Regions from separate parts of the Homo sapiens genome. Here regions 1 and 2 are each linked to region 3. The links are contacts of gene promoters, found by promoter capture Hi-C in blood cells and fetal thymus (Javierre and others, 2016). All regions are on one chromosome and are shown on one strand. The core of a region is centred on a gene start or on the middle of the fragment in contact, and the rest is flanking DNA. Distances in the headings are between cores, read along the strand shown. Region 1 overlaps SLC22A5 (solute carrier family 22 member 5). Region 2 holds the start of SLC22A5 (solute carrier family 22 member 5). Region 3 holds the start of AFF4 (ALF transcription elongation factor 4).

Region 1 (3,359 bases), core at 860-3,359, 570 kb before region 3:
GTTTAGTCTCTTTCTGCCCTCCAATGGTTAATTATTGCATATCATCTTGGAGTCAGGTCCTTTTTGATGTCCACCTCTTCCCCCTACCCCACCCCTCCCGTCAGCCCTGTTCTCACACACCATGACTCATTTCTTGGCTCTACCTAGTTCCTGGTTCTTGCTTTTCCTTCCCGTTCCCTCTCCTACCATCTCTGTAGCAGGCAGTTTTCCTTGGTCTCGTGACTATGAGAGGTTAGAAGCTGTAAATGCTGCCTGGTGGGGTTCTGGAATGTGTCTGTGGTCTGACTGGAAGATGAGGGGTTGGGTGTGGGAACAGCCACAAGCAGCCCTGCTGAAGTGTGAGAGGCAGGCATGGTTGGGCTTGGAAAAGAGGGAACAGTTATTGTAGACAGCGGAGGCCAATGGCCACTGCCAGCCCTGCAGACTTCCCAGTGAGTGGTGGCCCAGCAGCCACTGTCAGCATGCACCAGAAAGGGGTCCTGTGCGCAAAGGTCAGGCAGGAGTGTGGCAGAGGGCTTTTAAGTTAGGTGGTTTTGGGGGCTTTTAAGTGAGGGGTCAATCTGGGTGAATGCATAAGCCCCACTGGCATCTTTGAGGAAATGAGGCTATTTCAGGGGATACTTTCAGTCCAAAGTTGACCTTTTGTTGAACTTCTAACTCTGGAAAAACAAGCTCCAAACCTGGGTTTGCTTAAGAAAGCAACATCAGTGTGTTTAGACGTGTGGTTTATTAATGGCCTTGGCTGTGCTGAATTTCATAGGAAGTCACTCTGGGTGAAGCTCAGGTCAATTTTCCTGTTTTTCTATTTGAATTCTTTTTCCCTGGAAGCACACCAGTAACTACATAGTATAAGGACTCAAAACATTAACTTTTAAAAAATATCAGACCAATAAACCACACAGCCAGGTACTCTCTCTGACCCAGAGGGCAGGGAGCCAGGCTTCGGGAGGAATACTTAGAGGCCTCCTTGGAATGTGGCCACCGACAGGAATATGTGGGGGTGCAGTGAGGAAGCTGTCAGCCTGGGCCTCTGTCTTCCTGTACCCTTGAGGGACTGGTCACTTACTTTTCCTCATTTTCATTCACTCTGATTTGTTACTGACAAGGCCTAGGGAAGTTTTCACAGCCTAAAACACAGTCAGTATACTTACTGTTCTTAGAAACGTAACACTCCCCGACGCTGAGATGCAGACAGCTAAGATGCCAGGGATTCAAGTATGTTATTGTGTGCTCTGAGTCTCTGACCACCTCTTCTTCCCATACACTTATGATGTTGTTCCTGCAGTTACAAGACCTAAGTTCCAAGAAGCAGCAGTCCCACAACATTCTGGATCTGCTTCGAACCTGGAATATCCGGATGGTCACCATCATGTCCATAATGCTGTGGTATGTAAAAGAGACCTGCCTGAGGCTTCCAGACAAAGCTTCTTGAAGTGGCCATTGGGCCTCTTGTTTACAGACATGCCTCAGACAAAATTCAAAGCCTATGTCATCAGAGAGTGAAAAGGATATGTCTTGTGTTAGATGGAAAAAATGGGCATGTCACAATTCTTAATGGGATGGAACCTCAGAAAAGGAGAATGAAAACAATTGTGGAGGCTGTTGTGGGAAATATGGACTCTTGTGGGGAATCTCTCCAGATCTTAAGATGAATCCTTGCCCAATTTGGGTCATTTAGTTCCCGTCTCCTACCCAGTTACCGACAGTGGCTGAGGAGGCCAGGTAGGGCTTTTAAGAAGGATCTGAGTGAAGACACCATGTCCTGTAGGCTGCAGAGGCTGCCAGTTACTTTCTGGAAATGTGGAAGTGGGATGTGCTCCTCCTGGGATGTCCATAAACGGTCCTGGAGTCAGGGCTATAGCCTAGATGTCCTTACCAGGTTCCCACTAATGAGGCAAAGTATGTCAGAAAGGGATTTGTGAATTACCAGGGAGAGGAAACATGTCCAAGTGCACATCGCTAGCTTTTGCTCAGCGGCCGAACCCTGGGATTCTAGGCGACTTCTGGAGCCTGGTGGGTTAGCGGTGAGAAGATGGGCGAGGAGGGCGGACTTCATCTCAGAGTCCTTATTACTAGTCTCATCCAGCTTTGAGGCAGTCAGCCACTGTGCCTACTGAGGGAGTGCTATGAGTCACCCGCTTCCAAGGAATGGCCCAGGATCCCTCCAGGCAGTTCACCATTCCCTGAGTTGGCCTCAAGACAGGAGCAGCATGTAGCCTGCACCACAGACATGCAAGCCTGTGATGAGTCACCCACTTTTGTGTTCACCCAGGCTCTCCTCCCTGCTCTGGATTTCCTGGGGACTCATGCACATACTCTTTTTATTGTACCAGCTGTGTGTTCCACCTGCAGATGAGTCAAAACAGTCTAATCCATAAAGGTCTGGTTTGTCAAAGAGTGTGGGTCATCAACAGAGAGAATGCCTACTGGGGATGCCCAGGTCAGGGGTACTGCAGGGCATCCTGATGAGAGGCAGTGTGGCCCCTCCATTGGGAGCCACCTCTGTGCTCCACAAGTACCGCGGGGCTGGTGTCAGCTGTCTCTGACCAGCCTCTTCCTGACTGGTCACCACAGGTAGTGTGTGAGGGTCTCTCTCCAAGTGTTTGACCTAATGTTGTTCCTTTTGTTATCTTATCCCCCAAATCCTATCACACCTCACTTGATGTCTGCCTCCTGACTCATTCTCTAGCTCCTTCTGCAGTTGCTGGATTTGAGGAGGTTCAGCTTAGGATTTTTAAAGCTGAAAGGCAGGTTGGAATTTTTCTTTTCAATGAAGTAAATCTATCTGAATTATACAAGCTTTTTTGCTGGGACACTGTCTATATGGAAGGCTCTGAGAGCGCACTGGCGCAGGGTTTACACTGTACCACTTGGGCTGGGGAAAATTATCTTTTGATCTATGAAGTAAGACGCAGGGTTACAGTTACTGCTGCCTTACTAGTCTCTGCTTAAAGATGGTTTGGAATTTACTGAAATAATTGCATTGTAAAAGTTGTACAGGTTGGGAAAGATGTGGATACTGCTTTTCCAGCTTTCTTCTGCACTCTGTTTCAGGATGACCATATCAGTGGGCTATTTTGGGCTTTCGCTTGATACTCCTAACTTGCATGGGGACATCTTTGTGAACTGCTTCCTTTCAGCGATGGTTGAAGTCCCAGCATATGTGTTGGCCTGGCTGCTGCTGCAATATTTGCCCCGGCGCTATTCCATGGCCACTGCCCTCTTCCTGGGTGGCAGTGTCCTTCTCTTCATGCAGCTGGTACCCCCAGGTAGGGACCATGTGCATCTATGGTTTGGGGTCTTCACTGAGTCTCTTACTGTCTACCAGGCTGTCTCAATTAATAAAGAGAATAAAATCA
Region 2 (3,674 bases), core at 968-3,467, 590 kb before region 3:
CACCATCTTAGGTTGCTCTCTGCTTTGCGCATGTGGACAAGCCATCTATGACAAATAGTTTCTTTTCTTCCTAAGGATATGCAGCTTCTTTTGTAGTATACTGCATTGTTTTCAGTCCCTTTCAGGAATGTTATCTGATGCCCAACTGATATTTCTCAAATGTTAAAATAAGACTTCTTCATCTTGTTTGGTCTGGACAGAGGTCAACATTCTTCTCATAAAAGCTTTCATTTCTTTTGAAGCATTAAAATAATATTTTAGCACACAAAAAAGGAGTTTATTTTCAAGAAGCTTTGCTTTCTTTTTCAGTTAGTTCTAGATAAGAACTATAACTTCACATAAGATGTTAGAAGGATTTAAGTACATTGCTGAAGGTATAACCATCCATCTTCAGGAAGTAAGAATAGTGAATAGTAAGTATAAAGAAACAAACAAGTCCTGTGATAACATCTTTATCATAATTTTTTTAAGTCTATTATGCTTTATGCAAATGTTTAGATTTCCTTGTTAAAAATCTGCTGGCCAGGTTAGGTTCCCTTTCTGTAGCTTTATTTTCAACTCATAATATAGTGACTATTAAATATTCTTTACTCAACACATTATATTGTAAAAATATACACTTAGTTCTGTTTCTATCACTAAGCCACTACTATTTTAAAAAGGAATATCTTGCATTGTTAAGTTTAGCAGCCCAAATTCTTAAAGGCCTTAGGAATGGTGCTGTCCAATAAGATAACCAATAGCTACATGTGGCTACTGAGCACTTAAAAAATGAGTCTGGCCAGGCATAGTGGCTCACGTCTGTAATTCAGCATTTTGGGAGGCTGAGGTGGGAGGATTGCTTAAACCCAGGAGTCTGAGACCAGCCTGGGCAACACAGGGATGCCTTGTCTCTGTAAAATAAAAAAAATAAAAAAATTAGCTGGGCACGGTGGCATGTGCCTGTAGTCCTAGCTACTCAGCAGGCTGAGGCAGGAGGCCCACTTAAGCTTAGGAGTTCAGGGCTGCGGTGAGCTATGATTGTGCCACTGCACTCTAGCCTGGGTGACACAGTGGGACCGTGTCTCCAATAAATAAATGAATAAATAAATATTAAAAAATAAAAAGTGTGGCTAGTCCAAATTGAAATGTGCTGTAAAATACACACTGGATTCCTTTTTTTTTTTTTTTCAAATCCTGAGAACCTGTGAAACACACTGAATTCTTAAGATTTAGTATGAGGAGGGGAAAAAAAGATCAATGATTTACATATAACAATGTAAAATATCAATAATTTCTATATTGATTATATGATGAAATGATCATGTTCTGGATATACTTGATTAAATATACCATTAAAGTTAATTTCATCTTTTATTTTTACTTTTTAAATATGCAGCATTGCCCAATAAAATACAGGACAACCAGTTACATTTTTATTTTATATATTCCTGCTTGGGACATAATATTTAAAAATTATTCATTCTATATCTGAAATTCAAATTTAACTAGGAGTCCTATATTTTTATTTGCTAAATCTGGCAATTTTATTAATATGGCTACTAGAAAAGTTAACATAACAAATGTAGCTCCTTATCCTATGGAACATTGCTGCTTTAGAATCACCTCGCTGCTTTTTTTTTTTTTCCAGTTAGCTTCTGAATAAACTCTGCACGGAAATAACTAATCTGTGGGGAATATTTAACCCTAGGCTAGGATCGTTAATCGTGAAGTTAAATTTTTACATCTGCATGAACAAAATGGCTTGTTACAGACGAAAATGTGGAAAGGGCATCTGGACTAGAATGAAAAGTCATAGCTCCCAGCCTCTCTACTAGGGTAGTTAACAGTCCCAGGTTCAAAATAATCCCCGTCCCTCTTATAAGATTAGGCGGTGTCAAGAGCAACTATCTGTGAGACCCTGGGCCAGTGACTTTCTCCTTACCTCCGCCCCCAAGTAGGCCTTGCAAAAAGCTGGGAGGGGTGCGTTTTCAACACTGGAGCTTCGCGGCCGCTCTCCCACTCGCTCCCCGCCCGGCGCTAGAGGAGCGAGTTCGGACTCGGACCCCAAGGCCTCGAGTCCCGCTGCCTTCCTAAGCCGAGCCCGGGCTACCTCGGTCGTCCCCAGCAGGCTTGGCTGGCAGAGGCCGGGCCTCGCCAGGTCCCCAGGACAGGCCCCGCCCGGGCCTCAGGTGCACTCCCGGCCCGCCCCGCGCCCTCGCGTCCCGCCCCAGCTCCGCCTTCGCCGGCGCCGCTCTGCCTGCCAGCGGGGCGCGCCTTGCGGCCCAGGCCCGCAACCTTCCCTGGTCGTGCGCCCTATGTAAGGCCAGCCGCGGCAGGACCAAGGCGGCGGTGTCAGCTCGCGAGCCTACCCTCCGCGGACGGTCTTGGGTCGCCTGCTGCCTGGCTTGCCTGGTCGGCGGCGGGTGCCCCGCGCGCACGCGCAAAGCCCGCCGCGTTCCCCGACCCCAGGCCGCGCTCTGTGGGCCTCTGAGGGCGGCATGCGGGACTACGACGAGGTGACCGCCTTCCTGGGCGAGTGGGGGCCCTTCCAGCGCCTCATCTTCTTCCTGCTCAGCGCCAGCATCATCCCCAATGGCTTCACCGGCCTGTCCTCCGTGTTCCTGATAGCGACCCCGGAGCACCGCTGCCGGGTGCCGGACGCCGCGAACCTGAGCAGCGCCTGGCGCAACCACACTGTCCCACTGCGGCTGCGGGACGGCCGCGAGGTGCCCCACAGCTGCCGCCGCTACCGGCTCGCCACCATCGCCAACTTCTCGGCGCTTGGGCTGGAGCCGGGGCGCGACGTGGACCTGGGGCAGCTGGAGCAGGAGAGCTGTCTGGATGGCTGGGAGTTCAGTCAGGACGTCTACCTGTCCACCATTGTGACCGAGGTGGGTGCCGGCCCCTGCTGGGGCTGAGACCAGGGCTCGGAGGACCTGTCGCGGTCCTTGAACCCGAGCTCCTCTCTCCCAGATGCGCACTGGACGCTGTCACTCCCCCTCCCCCAACGGTCAACACCCTAGCGATGGAGACCCTCCAGCCAGGTGGCTTGGGAACGCTTCACGAGGTGACCTCCAGCCACAGTGTGCTCCTCCCTGCACAGGTGGTCAGTCTGGCCTCCCGTCCTGATGGCCACTTTGAAGAGGGTACCAGGAAGGTCCTGGCGGTCCCTGGGCGATGCTCTATGGCCCTGTGTGTCCAGGACTTACTCTAGTTGGGGTTGGGGGTGGTAAGTAGCAGAGCCAGGACTTGGGCCAGGGGCTATCCCGTTTTTCCTCTAGTCTCTTGATTTCTTTTTAGAAGAGAAGAAATACTTCTCTTTCCTGAACTTTTAAAAGTTAAATAAAGCATGTGTATACAACTGCCTCTTCCCTTTTTCCTCTAGTTACTCCTTCCCCTACCGTCCACAACCCAAAAACGACAATCTGGTCATGCCCTGTAAGTAATTGTTTGCCTTTTCCCATGGTCAGTTGTCAGTCTTTTTTTTTTTTGAGACAGAGTCTCCCTCTGTCACCAGGCTGGAGCGCAGTCGTGTGTTCTTGGCTCACTGCAACCTTCGCAGTCGTGCGTTCTTGGCTCACTGCAATCTTCGCCTTCCGGGCTCAAGTGATTCTCCTGCCTCAGTCTCCGAGTAGCTGTGAGCCACGACGCCCAGCTAATTTTTGTGTTTTTAGTAGAGACGGGGTTTCACC
Region 3 (4,091 bases), core at 824-3,323:
AAGAGTACACAGAAGAGAATGTATCAACCTGAATGTGAGAATCTGACAAGTAGAAAGTGACTCAGAACAAAAATATTCAATCTTTAAGAATTCTTAATTACACAGCTTCACCTTACACTCCCAAACTGTAGATCATGTTCCAATTAACACAGCTGGGCTCTTTTTTCAGACACCCCATCTTGTCCCCACTTGAAGCAAAATTTTATTTAAAGTAAAATTTGCCTACTGTTTCTAGAGAGTTAACAAAAATCAAAGTACCAGCCTGCAAACCACCGCAAATTGAATGAAACTGCTGGTAATAAAAAAAGAAAAATTTGACTGCTTCCAGGTTTTTAGTAAGTTAACTCTGAAAGATAACTTAAAATAACTTACTGGGAATTTTTCTTATATTTAGGAGCTGAAAGATGCAGTGATAATAAGGAAAACGAATCTGAGAAATTTAAAGAAGCCAGCTTTGTTGAAAACCAAGTGGCCACTTGCCAACACTTCTTTATGCACGTATGACCAAAGATGATTCTAGGCAGACTCACAGACCACAAAGGCTCTTTATCAAATCCCAAATTAAGAAAGTTCTCATAAATATTTCAATTTTGATAAGTTAAAGACCAGTTAAGTTTTAAAAAGCACTTTATGAAGTGCAGAATCAATACAGAAACGAAGCTTTGCGCTTTTCATATCTGAGCCCGAAAAACAGCACACATTTTATGTTACATTTACAGTCTATTCACAGACACCTATAGCTTAGATTCCATCAAGAAAAACACTGGTCAATGGAAAAGTGACTGGCCTTAGTATAAAATTTCCATGTGGCCAGCAGGGAAGAAACCGCATAATTCTGAATTACAACTGACAAAACTACGAGAACCCTAAATCGAACTCTTCGCCTTGAACTCCATATACAAACATTTCAGATTCGTACTTCCACTTCCTGAAAATAATACTGTTTGTAAACGAAAAGGCAATAAGGTTACTCCCAAAACTCCTGTACTCCATGATCCATCCTCAAAGAGTGGAAGGAACAGCAAAGTAGAAGGAACAAAGCACTGACGTCAATTACGAGATTAACCCCAAGCACAGGCAGCTGGAGGAAAGGCCTAAACATCAATATCCACGCACAAGCTACTGGGATAACTAGGTAACAGACCGATTCAGAAGTTGTAGGGGAGGGTATTCGAGTATTATACCCCCACGTTCCCATTTTTAGTCAATCCCCTTCGCAAGTCGAAGGCGGAAATTTTTCCTTCTTTTTTTTTTTTTTTTGCGGGGGTGGGGGTGTGGGAGAGGTGCGCAGGATCGCGAGAAGGAAAGCGAGAACTAGCTGGGTAATGTTAGCCAGAATCTGGGCCTATTTTCTCTTTAATTAGACATAATTTGAAATTGAGGAGGATATGAAAAAGTAACAAATCAGCCGATGGAACGTCTGAGGAAAGAAAGAGGAAAGGAGAAACACTAAACGGATGGATTTCTGGGAATTTTTGTTAGGATTGGGTTAGCTTTTTTTATTTTCTTATCTTTGCGGGAAGGTGGTGGGGTGGGACGCGCAGATGAGAGGAGGGGTGACGCCTGATTGAGCAGCCCCAGCCCGGAGGGTCTCCCCGAGGCTCCCCGCAGAACTTGCGGGCCCCCACCCCCACCCGGCCCCGGCCACAACCCCCGCGGCCCGGCCCGGCCCTGGGTCAGTCTGTCGGCCCTTCTTACCTCCAGTCCCGGCTCCGCTAGGCCCGAACCATCTCCTGGCTGCGGCAGTGGCGGCGCCGGGCCTGCACCTTCACCGGACGCGCATTCGAGCCCGCCCAGGGGGCGGTGACAGGCTGCCAAGGGCGAGGGGCTCCGGGAGGCGGCGGGGGTTCCGGAGGCCTCGACAAACGAAGGCGGCGTCGGCGGCGGCGGCAGCGATGCGCCTCACACGGAACAGGCGTAGGCCCCGCACCGCTCCATGACGGTCGGGCCCGGGCTGGGACAGCTGACTGAGGCGGCGGGGGCGGGTTAACGAAGACCTGGCACCAGGATCCCCGCCCCGTCCGCTGGCGGCGGCGACGGCAGCTGGACTCCTGCAGCCAGGGCTGTGACTGACGCAGCGGCCGTGCCACCATGTGACCAAGACCGGGCGGGTGCGGGGCGTCACGTGATGCCTCTGCGCCCCTCCCCGCTGGGGGAGTAGGGGGCGGGGGTCTGTGGGCCGGCTGGGCCGGGAGGCGACGCCCGGGGTGGTGACGTTCCCGGCTGTGGGGTCTGATGACCCGGGCCAGGCAAAGGACCCGCCCGAGCGGTATAGGCCTGAGCCTCTGGGCACTGCGGCCGCGTCCGGCAGGGCTGCCACGGCAGTACAGGGCCTGCACATCCGGGAGCTCACGCCCTCCTGCGCGTAGCCCGCTAGTGAGGTTCCGAAGGGCGGGGCCGGGCCGAACCGGATATGCCGGTTCTGGGGCTCAGGTGACAAACCCAGGCCTTCCGCCCCTCGCCTCTGGTGGGGATCCGGCCCAACCCGGAGCTTCCTAGACTTGCTTCCAGGTGTCGAAGCCTCGAGTCCTCAAGAGGTCCAGCAAAAAGGCAAAGGACGCAGGAGGCTGTTCGGTATTTCCAGTAAACTTACCCTAAGAAGCCAAACCGTCCCTCTTTCTTCGTCATTTAAACATCTTCTGCCACTAATGTTTTCCTTTTCATTTATTTATTGAGATAGATCTCGCTGTTGTCGCCCAGGCTGGAGTACAATGGCGGGATCTCGGCTCACTGCAACCTCCGCCTCCCGAGTTCAAGCGATTCTAGTACCTCAGCCTCCGGAGTAGCTGGGATTAAAGGGGGGAGCCACCACCTACGGCTAATTTTTGTATTTTTAATAGAGACACGGTTTCACCATGTTGGCCAGGCTGGTCTCGAACTCCTGACCTCAACCAATCCACCCGCCTGGGCCTCCCAAAGTGTTGGGATTACAGGCGTGAGCCACCGCACCCGGCCCACTAATGTTTTTCTTCAGCATATCATTCTGAACACTTCTTTCACCTCTAAACATCTACTATTTCTTTTAAGCTTCACTCTTTATATGCATTTTCTCTATAGAGCTATATAAATTAGGAAATGTCTTAATAGAAAACTCAAAACATGACAGAATAAAAAATAATTGATTCTCCCATCTCTGTCTGTTAGCTGTTTCAGTCCTGGAAGGCAATCACTTAGCATTTAATAATGTATCTTTCCCTACATATTTGTAAGTAATACATTAAAATATAGGGATACTTCTTTTTACACAAAAGGTAACACACTATATACGCTGTTCAGTCCTTTTTTTCTCACTTCAAATATCTTGGATAGGCTGGGCACAGTGGCTCAGGCCTATGATCCCAACACTTTAGGAGGCCGAGGGGGGCTGATCGCTTGAGACCAGGAGTTTGAGACCAACCCCGGCAACATGGCAAAACCCCATCCCTATGAAAAATACAAAAATTAGCCGGGCGTGGTGGTGCATGCGTATAGTCCCACCTACTCTGGAGACTGAGGTGGGAGGATCACTTGAGCCTAGGAGGTCGGTGCTGCAGTGAGCCGGGAGCTTGCCATCCAGCCTGGATGAGAGTGAGACCCTGTCTCAAAAAAAGAAAAAAGAAAAAAATGTCTTGGACATCCTGCCATATCAGTATATAATGAACTACCTTTTTCTTCCTAGAGGCAGAATAATATTCCACTTATGCAAACATCCTAATTTATTTAACCAATCCCCTACAGGTGGATATTCCGCTTGTTGCCAAGCCATTACTATTACATGCTAAGCTGCAATGAATAACCTCATACAAGACAGGGCAACATAGTGAGACCCCATCTCTACAAAAAATAAAAAATTAGCCGTTTGTGGTGGCACAGGCTTGTGGTCCTAACTACTAGAGAGGCTGAGGTGGGAGAATCGTTTGTACCCAGGAGATGAAGGCTGCAATGAGCCCTAATCGCACCACTGCACTCCAGTCTCAGTGACAGAGCAAGACCCTGTCTCAAAAAAGTTAAAATAATTAAAAACGAAAAACAACTCCATATAATGAGCAAATTATACCTGTATGATAAATCCTTAGCCTGGAATCTTTAGATCAAAAGGATTTTTAATTTTG

The links. The method cuts DNA at HindIII sites, captures the fragments that hold promoters and counts their contacts. A CHiCAGO score of 5 or more calls a contact.
Region 1: a contact is called between a fragment that was not itself captured here and the fragment with the promoter of AFF4 in region 3, in 2 of 17 cell types (monocytes and fetal thymus). The highest score is 5.1, in monocytes.
Region 2: a contact is called between the fragment with the promoter of SLC22A5 here and the fragment with the promoter of AFF4 in region 3, in 1 of 17 cell types (activated CD4 T cells). The highest score is 6.8, in activated CD4 T cells.

What each region holds. Positions count from the first base shown.
Region 1 is chr5:132,387,636-132,390,994 of GRCh38, forward strand. SLC22A5 (solute carrier family 22 member 5) reads left to right here. Exons shown (of 10, transcript NM_003060.4): 6 at 1,286-1,386; 7 at 3,055-3,269. Among named protein-coding and RNA genes, the nearest start is that of MIR3936HG, 19 kb to the left of the region's middle. The HindIII fragment of the contact is 1,375 bases long and covers 1,423-2,797 here.
Region 2 is chr5:132,367,493-132,371,166 of GRCh38, forward strand. SLC22A5 (solute carrier family 22 member 5) reads left to right here and starts at 2,218. Exons shown (of 10, transcript NM_003060.4): 1 at 2,218-2,873. The coding sequence starts at 2,481. It overlaps MIR3936HG (MIR3936 host gene), which reads right to left and starts at 2,424. Exons shown (of 8, transcript NR_110997.1): 1 at 2,352-2,424. RefSeq lists a silencer at 2,101-2,420. The HindIII fragment of the contact is 8,292 bases long and covers 988-3,674 here.
Region 3 is chr5:132,961,561-132,965,651 of GRCh38, forward strand. AFF4 (ALF transcription elongation factor 4) reads right to left here and starts at 2,074. Exons shown (of 21, transcript NM_014423.4): 1 at 1,699-2,074. It overlaps AFF4-DT (AFF4 divergent transcript), which reads left to right and starts at 2,252. Exons shown (of 2, transcript NR_186175.1): 1 at 2,252-2,574; 2 at 2,681-3,130. RefSeq lists a silencer at 1,529-2,368. The HindIII fragment of the contact is 2,367 bases long and covers 659-3,025 here.